3 separate regions of the Homo sapiens genome follow, and regions 1 and 2 are each linked to region 3. The links are contacts of gene promoters, found by promoter capture Hi-C in blood cells and fetal thymus (Javierre and others, 2016). All regions are on one chromosome and are shown on one strand. Each heading gives the region's core, a stretch centred on a gene start or on the middle of the fragment in contact. The rest is flanking DNA. Distances are from core to core; before and after follow the strand shown. Region 1 has its middle 3.8 kb from the start of YARS2. Region 2 has its middle 30 kb from the start of ALG10. Region 3 holds the start of SYT10 (synaptotagmin 10).

What was found. The method cuts DNA at HindIII sites, captures the fragments that hold promoters and counts their contacts. A CHiCAGO score of 5 or more calls a contact.
Region 1: a contact is called between a fragment that was not itself captured here and the fragment with the promoter of SYT10 in region 3, in 4 of 17 cell types (M0 macrophages, M2 macrophages, erythroblasts and 1 more). The highest score is 10.0, in M0 macrophages.
Region 2: a contact is called between a fragment that was not itself captured here and the fragment with the promoter of SYT10 in region 3, in 1 of 17 cell types (M1 macrophages). The highest score is 6.1, in M1 macrophages.

What each region holds. Positions count from the first base shown.
Region 1 is chr12:32,758,390-32,761,089 of GRCh38, forward strand. No RefSeq gene overlaps it. Among named protein-coding and RNA genes, the nearest start is that of YARS2, 3.8 kb to the left of the region's middle. The HindIII fragment of the contact is 3,155 bases long and covers 1-2,700 here.
Region 2 is chr12:33,991,151-33,993,850 of GRCh38, forward strand. No RefSeq gene overlaps it. Among named protein-coding and RNA genes, the nearest start is that of ALG10, 30 kb to the right of the region's middle. The HindIII fragment of the contact is 1,138 bases long and covers 813-1,950 here.
Region 3 is chr12:33,438,405-33,441,104 of GRCh38, forward strand. SYT10 (synaptotagmin 10) reads right to left here and starts at 1,415. Exons shown (of 7, transcript NM_198992.4): 1 at 968-1,415. The coding sequence starts at 1,118. RefSeq lists an enhancer at 326-1,142. The HindIII fragment of the contact is 7,804 bases long and covers 1-2,700 here.

The DNA of each region.
Region 1 (2,700 bases), core at 81-2,580, 680 kb before region 3:
TCTACCTGGGATTACAATTTATTATAAAGTCTTTTAAAAATAGATTTGAGCTCTGCTTTGTCTCTTAAGTTTAGTTGCATCTCATGAAGAGGCAGCAAAGTCTGATATAGAAGGTGGTGTCGGGCCGGGTGCGGTGGCTCACGCCTGTAATCCCAGCACTTTGGGAGGCTGAGGTGAGCGGATCACTTGAGGTTGGGAGTTTGAGACCAGCCTGACCAACATGGAGAAACCCCATCTCTAATAAAAATACAAAATTAGCCGGGCATGGTGGCGCATGCCTGTAATCCCAGCTACTTGGGAGGCTGAGGCAGGAGCATTGCTTGCACCCACGAGGTGGAGGTTGCAGTGAGCCGAGATCATGCCATTGCACTCCAGCCTGGGCAACGAAAGCCAAACTCCGTCTCAAAAAAAAAAAAAAAAAAAGAAGGTGGTGTCACAGGAGGTGCTAGATGAGACTTGACAGTAGCTTAATGACAGTAACAAGCAACAAGTTTGGAAAATACAGTGAGATCAATTACTCTCTTTTTATAATTTGTGTTGGTATTATAGGGGAAATTGGGCTTTGTCCCAAAGACAGGAGCAATAAAGAAGATGGGACTTTCAAACCTTTGGAATTATATCCGTGGCTAAAATTTTATGGGATTGCACCCATGGTTTGCATTTGGGTTACAAAAAAGTGACCAAGTTAATTCTTGCTGTTTTTATTGGCTTAAAAAGTGAGTGAACAAGGGTTAAAAAGTATTTTTAAAAATATGATTTATCTCAACTGTAATAACTTGAGGTTAACTGGCCTTGAATTAGAGGCACATGTGTTTTACAGTTACCTTTTCCTGCAACAAAATGCCACATAAATGTTCTCTTTGAAGGGATCCCTGTTTTAAATGGCTTGGTTTTCAAAATGTAAACAAATATAAATATAATAGAATTCAAAAGACACAGAGTAAACAGTAATGGTATTTTAACTGATCTCTACTTAACTTTGAAAATTTCTCTATCTCTAGCATTGTATTAAATATATATTCAGATTACAGCAGAGATCTGATTAGGGCTGAAATATGAGCTGCTCGAACATCACAGCAAAATGACAGCAGAAAGAAGTCTGAGGAATTCTGATCATTATAATCACTATAAAATATAATTCTTATTTGTGTTTTCTGTTTTTTTTTCCTTGGAGAAGATTATTGGTGACATCAGATGCAAAAGGGAGTGGATAGGAACAAGAAATAGAAATTGTAAACCTATAATTGTAAACCTACGTAACCATGCCCGGTTACGGCCGGGCATGGTGGCTCACGCTTGTAATCCCAGCACTTTGGGAGGCTGAGGCGGGCAGATCACCTGAGGTCAGGAGTTTGAGACCAGCCTGACAAACATGGTGAAACTCCCGTCTCAACCAAAAATACAAAAATTAGCCAGACGTGGTGGCGGGCGTCTGTAATCCCAGCTACTCAGGAGGCTGAGGCAGGAGAATCACTTAAACCTGGGAGGCGGAGGTTGCAGTGAGCCGACATAGCACCACTGCACTCCAGCCTGGGCAACAGAGTGAGACAACATCTCAAAAAAAAAAAAAAGAAAGAAAAGAAAAAGAAATTGTAGGTTATTGCAGAAAGGCCATGGCTTTTCTTCCAGTTGAAGTATTTCCATGGCTTTTCTTCCAGTTGAAGTATTTCCATGACATTCCTATCTCCTATTACTTGGGAAGAATCATTTCTAAAGATTGATTTCATGTCTTTGTTGTCTTTGTATAATAATTTATAACTCAATCTGCCTCATAATTACATCTTCTCACACATGACTTTCATGTTGCTGTTTTTCTTGAAACCTACATCTAAAGTCCTAAAGATCCTCCCACTCTGCCCATCCTTACCTGCAAGGCAGTTGCTCCCCTTTCATTCCAAACTAATTTCTTTCAGGAAGCTCCTCTGCATTAGGTAGGGCGAAGGAAGGATGCTTTTACTGTCCAGGTTCATCATGCCCCTAAAATGTATTAAAATGTAAAATCAATAATGCTTACCCTTCCCACACAAAAAAATGGAAAGACCATTAAGTTCTATTAAAATTTATAGAAATTTATGTGAGCTAAGTGTCTTGAAACCTAGTCTGTGTCCCTTGATTGAAGTGGCTTTAATGCTTTTTGAGCTGATGGTCATATTAACATCCAAAAATTTTTTATAAGAGATTAGCTTATTTTAAGATGCTGATTGTAGGAGGATAATTAGACAAAGAAACATGTTACTAGATATGCATTTCCTTTCTATATTAGAGTTTAGAGAAGGATACCCCAAGTTTCTTTCTTTCTTTCTTTTAGGCTGCTGTTGTAGCCAGTGGAATAACCTGGAGGTCTCAGCATTGCCTTAACTTTATGCACCTGGTCCCATACCATATGGCTGGATAATGTTTTGAGATATTTATGGGTTTAAAAATCTTTCATTTTCCAGGCCGGGTGCGGTGGCTCACGCCTGTAATCCCAGCACTTTGGGAGGCCGAGGTGGGCAGATCACGAGGTCAGGAGTTCGAGACCAGCCTGGCCAACATAGTGAAAACCCGTCTCTTCCAAAAATACAAAAATTAGCCAGGTGTGGTGGCACACGCCTGTAGTCCCATCTACTCAGGAGGCTGAGGCGGGAGAGTCGCTTGAACCCGGAAGGCAGAGGTTGCAGTGAGCTGAGACCACGCCATTGCACTCCAGCCTGGGTGACA
Region 2 (2,700 bases), core at 132-2,631, 550 kb after region 3:
ACTGAGAGGAAAACATTGAAGCCACTTTTGCCCTGAGAGCATTTGCTGATAACATAAAATTGGACTCCTAGTTTTCTCCATTTTGTGAGGTGAGAGCAACGTAACTTAGAATTCAGAACCAGCATAAGATATATTTTAGCAGATTTAGATTTGAGCATCTCTATTCCAAGCTGGGATTCCCTAAAGGTTGTGCCGTCAAGGTTAAGGAGAACAGAAAGTGAGGCAGTTATTACATGGGGAATTTGATCCCAGGTTTAACTTTCTTGGATCAGGGAATTTCAAAACCTAAACTTGGTTTAAGTAGTTACTGACTAGTAATGTGCTCTGGTGCTTGACAGAACCAAATGATATCTCCTTTGGAGGAAGCTGTCTACATAATACATCACAAATCAATCTTGCAATTTTTCACATGCAATATTGAACATATATTCAACGATAATAGGGAACACAAGAAACTGGAGAACAAAAATGAAAGAATTAGAACCAAAGAGATGTGAAAAACTAGAATCATCAAATGCAGATGATAAAGCAACAATGCACATAAAGAAATGAATGTATTTGTTTGGCAGTTTTTAAACTTTTAATTAATACATAACTGTTATGAGAGCTCTTTTAACAAATTTAAGATGCAAGGAAAAAATAAAAAGGAATTAATTATTCCTAAAATATATAAAGTAGCATGTATTAATATGTATGCATTACAATGATTTAAAATATTGTAAATATTATTTACAATATTTTATTGTAACAAAAATAAAATATTTTTGGACAAATATTAACACAATATCTTTAGACAAATTAATTAGGAAAAAAGCTTTAAATCAACAGGTTTTACTTGCGGTATGGGAGGGTTTTTGGTGAGATATCTATACAGTTGAGAATATATAGCAGTGAGAATGAAACAATGATCTAAATTTCTATTAATAAAGATGGATAATTTGTCAAACATTTATTGCTTAAAGCCAAAATGCTAGCGATCTTTTTCTAAAGGTACCTTATTGAATTTTCTAAGGCTCACCTTTAAAAAGGGCTTAAGTGGGAACTATGGATAGATATAGGGATAATTTTGGAATAAATATAATACAACCTTAAGCATGTAGAGACCCTCTAATTAGACAATGGATCTGTCTACATGTAATGATAATTCTGTCTAGAGTCATGCTTCTTAAACTTTGAGACAGGATCCCACTCTGTCACCCAGGATGGAGTACAGTGGCATGATCATGGCTCACTGCAGCCTTAGCCTCCCAAGTTCAATTGATCCTCCTGTCTTAGCCTCCTGAGTACCTGGGACCATGGGTGTGCACCACCATGCTTGGCCAAATTTTTTTTTATTTGTAGAGATAGAGGTCTTACCATGTTTCCCAGGCTGGTCTTGAATTCTTGGGCTTATGCAATCCTCCCATAGAGGTCTTACCATGTTTCCCAGGCTGGTCTTGAATTCTTGGGCTTATGCAGTCCTCCCACATTGGCCTCTCATTGCACTGAGATTACAGGTGTGAACCACTGCACTCAGTCTTTCTTATACTTTAATGTGTACATGAATCACTTGTGTATCTTGTTAAACTACAGATTCTAATTCATTAGGTCTGGGGTAAGCCTGAGAGTCTACATTTTCTAACTAGCTTCAGGTGACACTGATGTTGGTGATTTTGACTAACAAGCAATGGTTCTTCAACTTTAGTCTTCATTAGAATCACCTGGAGGCTTCTTGAACTAGATTTCTGGTCTCCACCCACAGGGTTTTTGATTTAGTAGCTCTAAGTTGGAGCCTGAGTTTTTTCATTTCTAAAAAAAAAAAAAATTCCCTGGTAACGCTAATACTGCTGGTCCAGGTGCTGGATTTTGAGATCCACCAATTTGTTGTATAGGATTTGAAACAGGCAATAGAAAATGCCAAAAACACAGAACAAAATAGCTTTGTTCATCATCCAAGGCTCAAGCCAATCAAGCTTCACTGGCGAAAGCAGCACAAGGAGCCTGGGTTAATAAGCTCTGCCAGATATCTTGACTACTAATTAGCTCTAGTGATTGCAAACATTCCATTGATATGCTGGGACACACTAGCTTCCTGAGCCTAGTCAGGAAAATGGTTTGAAGCTTAGGAATTAAACATAACTCTATTGATATTATTTCATATGTACAAAAAACTTATAATCAACTAGTAGCCATTTTTACAGAAAAGGAGGGCCAGAGAGGTTGCTTGAGATAACACAGCCAGTGGCACAATTAAAATCAGCAAGGCCTCTATTACTATTGTGTAAAATGAAATACTATTCCACAGTACACGGTGATTCCACCCAAATCTTTCCTCCTTGAAGCAGATGTTCCTTGAAATGTAAGCTTACACTATGAGCTTAGGGAAGAGAAGTCACTCAATTCCTTTCTGAAAATAATTAGGCAGAAGATCAGGAATTATTTACTGCCAAGGTATTTAAAACACCTCTATTAACAGAAAAAAAGGAGGGGCAGGAAACTGGCTTTTATTGAGCAGCTATAATTTTCAGACCCTATGCTACATACTCTCTCCAACATATTTATGTTTGATCCTCATAACACAGTTTAAGGATGAAGACCTTGGACCTCAAAATTAAAGTCACTATTCCAAAGTCAAACACCTAAGAAAAATAAGAGCTATTTATTCCATTTCTAAGGAATAGAACCCAATGTGCCATACTCTTGGCAAGCAGAACATTGGAG
Region 3 (2,700 bases), core at 165-2,664:
GCCCGCAACTCGGGGATCCACCTCGCGTGCGCCCGAGGAGCACAGCAGGCTGGACACACCAACCTTTTCCCCAACCGTGACCCAAACAGTGGCTTGGATTCGATCCTTTCCACCCCCAAGCCTTGAGGAAAATCCACTTGAGACTTTTTTCCATCTCCAGATTTCCGACGGTCGATATCCTCCTGCATCCAGCCCATTTCCTAGTTTCCTGAAGGGTAGGGAGGACGTCTGTGAGTTGGATGTCTGAGAGCGTGCGTGTGCTAGGGATTTTAAACGTCTCCCCTCTCTTCCACTTCTTCGATATGTGCTCTGAGCTTTAGGTGTCGCCTCACAAATGGGATCAATAATCCTTGTTTTACCAACTTTGTCATGAAACCCTAGAAAATCATATATATTAAAAGGGCTTTAGAAATTGTCAGGTGCCCGACAGGTTGCAGCCGCGGGTTACCTCGGAGGCCAAGGCAGCCACCTCTGCAAGGGAGTTCTGCGTCCAAGCATGGCTTGTCCGTCCCGCCTGGCCCCCATCAACAAGGCCGGGACCAGCGGCCGGTGGAACGAGCGAGAGCAGCCCTAGTCCCACAGGTGAGCCGCCCCCACAAGCAGCCAAGCCGCGAGCCGTCCCGGCGCCGTCACCGCCCGCACTCACTTCTCCACTCCGGGAGGGAGATGGGAGGCGTGGGAGAACGCGGAGAGGCGCGGCGAGGCTGGGAGCGGGAGACGGCGCCGGGAGGCGGGAAGCGGACCAGAGAATGGGAGAAGCCCGGCAGGTGGACAGGAGGAAACAAAACCCAAACGCCCCACCCTCGAAGTCGTCAGGAGCTGAGCGAAGGAAGGAGCGAGGTAGGAAAGCGTGGCGCCCCAAATATGCCGCGGGAGCGGCGCGGGAGGCGCAGAACCCCGGAGCTTGCAGCCTAGCGCGCGGGGTCCCAGCGGAGCGCGAGGACGCGAGCGGAGCCCTCCCGGTTACCTGTGCTGCTTCCGCCCTGGCTGCCCCTGTCCCGAGGGAAGATGCCCGAGCACTTCTCCCACTCCACCTGGCCGGCGAAGCACAGCTCGGTGACGATGTGCAGAGCCTTCTGGCACAGACTGTTCACTCCGTCCTCCTTGTGGAAACTCATCGTTTGGCTTTTCTTTCGTTTTCTCTTTTTTTCCCAGTTAGCCGTCTTTTCCTCTTCCCGTACCTCTAACCCCTCTGGCGCCCTAAGCCATAGTCCGCCCGCGGTGACTTTGGCTGGAGATTGCGCCGCTGAGAGCCGGCAACTCTTAGGAGCCCCACGTTGGCCCCATGGCGGGAGCGGAGGGCGTAGGGGAAGGAGAGGCGCGCGAGGAGGCTGCGGCTGCCGCGAGGTTTGCGCCAACTCTCCCGCCGCGCGAGCGAGCCGAGGCGCGCTGGAACTAGAGACCCGGCATGGAGTGCTGAGGGGAGGGGGGAGCCGTAAAAAAGCCAAAGCAAGCCCTCGACTCGCAAGCACGCCCCCCTCCTCTCCCCAGCGCACTGGTGTTTCTGGCGGGTGCCTGGCGGCGACGCGTCCAATCGCAGCCCGGCGCGGGCGCTAGGTGACAGGCGGCGGAGCGCGCAGACCCGGCTCCCCGCGTCCTCTGAAGAAGGGACTCGCGAGGGAGGGAGGGAGGGAGGGCGGGCGGCCCGGCGCCCCTGCCGAGGCCGGGGATGCTCATCGTTGCCCAGAGTTGGCCCGAGGAGCCCTCTCCGTTTTCCCAATACTTTTCCCTGCATCAGTGCAGCCATCCCCGCCGCCTTTGTCTCTCCAACTTTTCCACGGATGTATTCTACTTTCTGTGCTATCTGCTTCTGCCCTTCTGGAAAAGTCATCCCAATCGAAGAAAAACTGAAAAAGTTAATTAGAAAAAAGAATGCGTGAATAAGCAAACCCTCTTAGGTAGATCACAAAATAAAATGTTATTTGTACTAATAATCAGATAAGATTCTGTCGATTAATCCGTAATTGGCGATTGAGAATGCACAACTTGACTCCCTCCATCTCCTTTCTTAGCGACTTAAAACAAGACATGGGTGTTAAAGGGAACAGGATTAAGTTCAAATCTGTCACACATCTCAGCCTAACCTTGAAGTTGTTTTCAGGTCTTGGCGATCCTCCTACTTCAGCCTCCCTAGTAGCTAGGACTCCAGGGACTCCAGGCGCTATTTTTTTTTTTTAAACTTATTGTAAAGACAAGGATCTCACTATGGTGCCCTGGCTGGTCTCGAACTCCTGGGCTCAATCAATCCTACCGCCTTAGCTTCCCAAAATGCTGGCACTAGCCACCACGGCCGGCCTGCTTTCGGGTCTTTGCCTGAGTCTGTAAAATGGGAGATTTGGACTCGGATGTCTTAAGCTCACCTGTTTTTATAATTCTTTAATGCAAATGGGTGCAAATCAGTAGAACTAAAGCGACAAAATAATAAACATGGGCTTCAGGATATAATATGTTTATATGGTTTTTAAACTGTTTTCGGGCAGAGTTTGATCCCATATCATAACCTGAGGATTGATTTAACCCTCTTGTGATGAGGGATTCTTTATTTTTGAAGTGGGATACATTGAACTTGTTAGCGTGTCTATGCTAGTAGAATAAGTAGTCTTTTTTAAAAACAGCTAATCAGTTCATGGTAAATTATTTGCTTTGCACAGGACTATGGTAAACCTAGTATAAATATTAGGCATAGCACTCCAGTAGGGA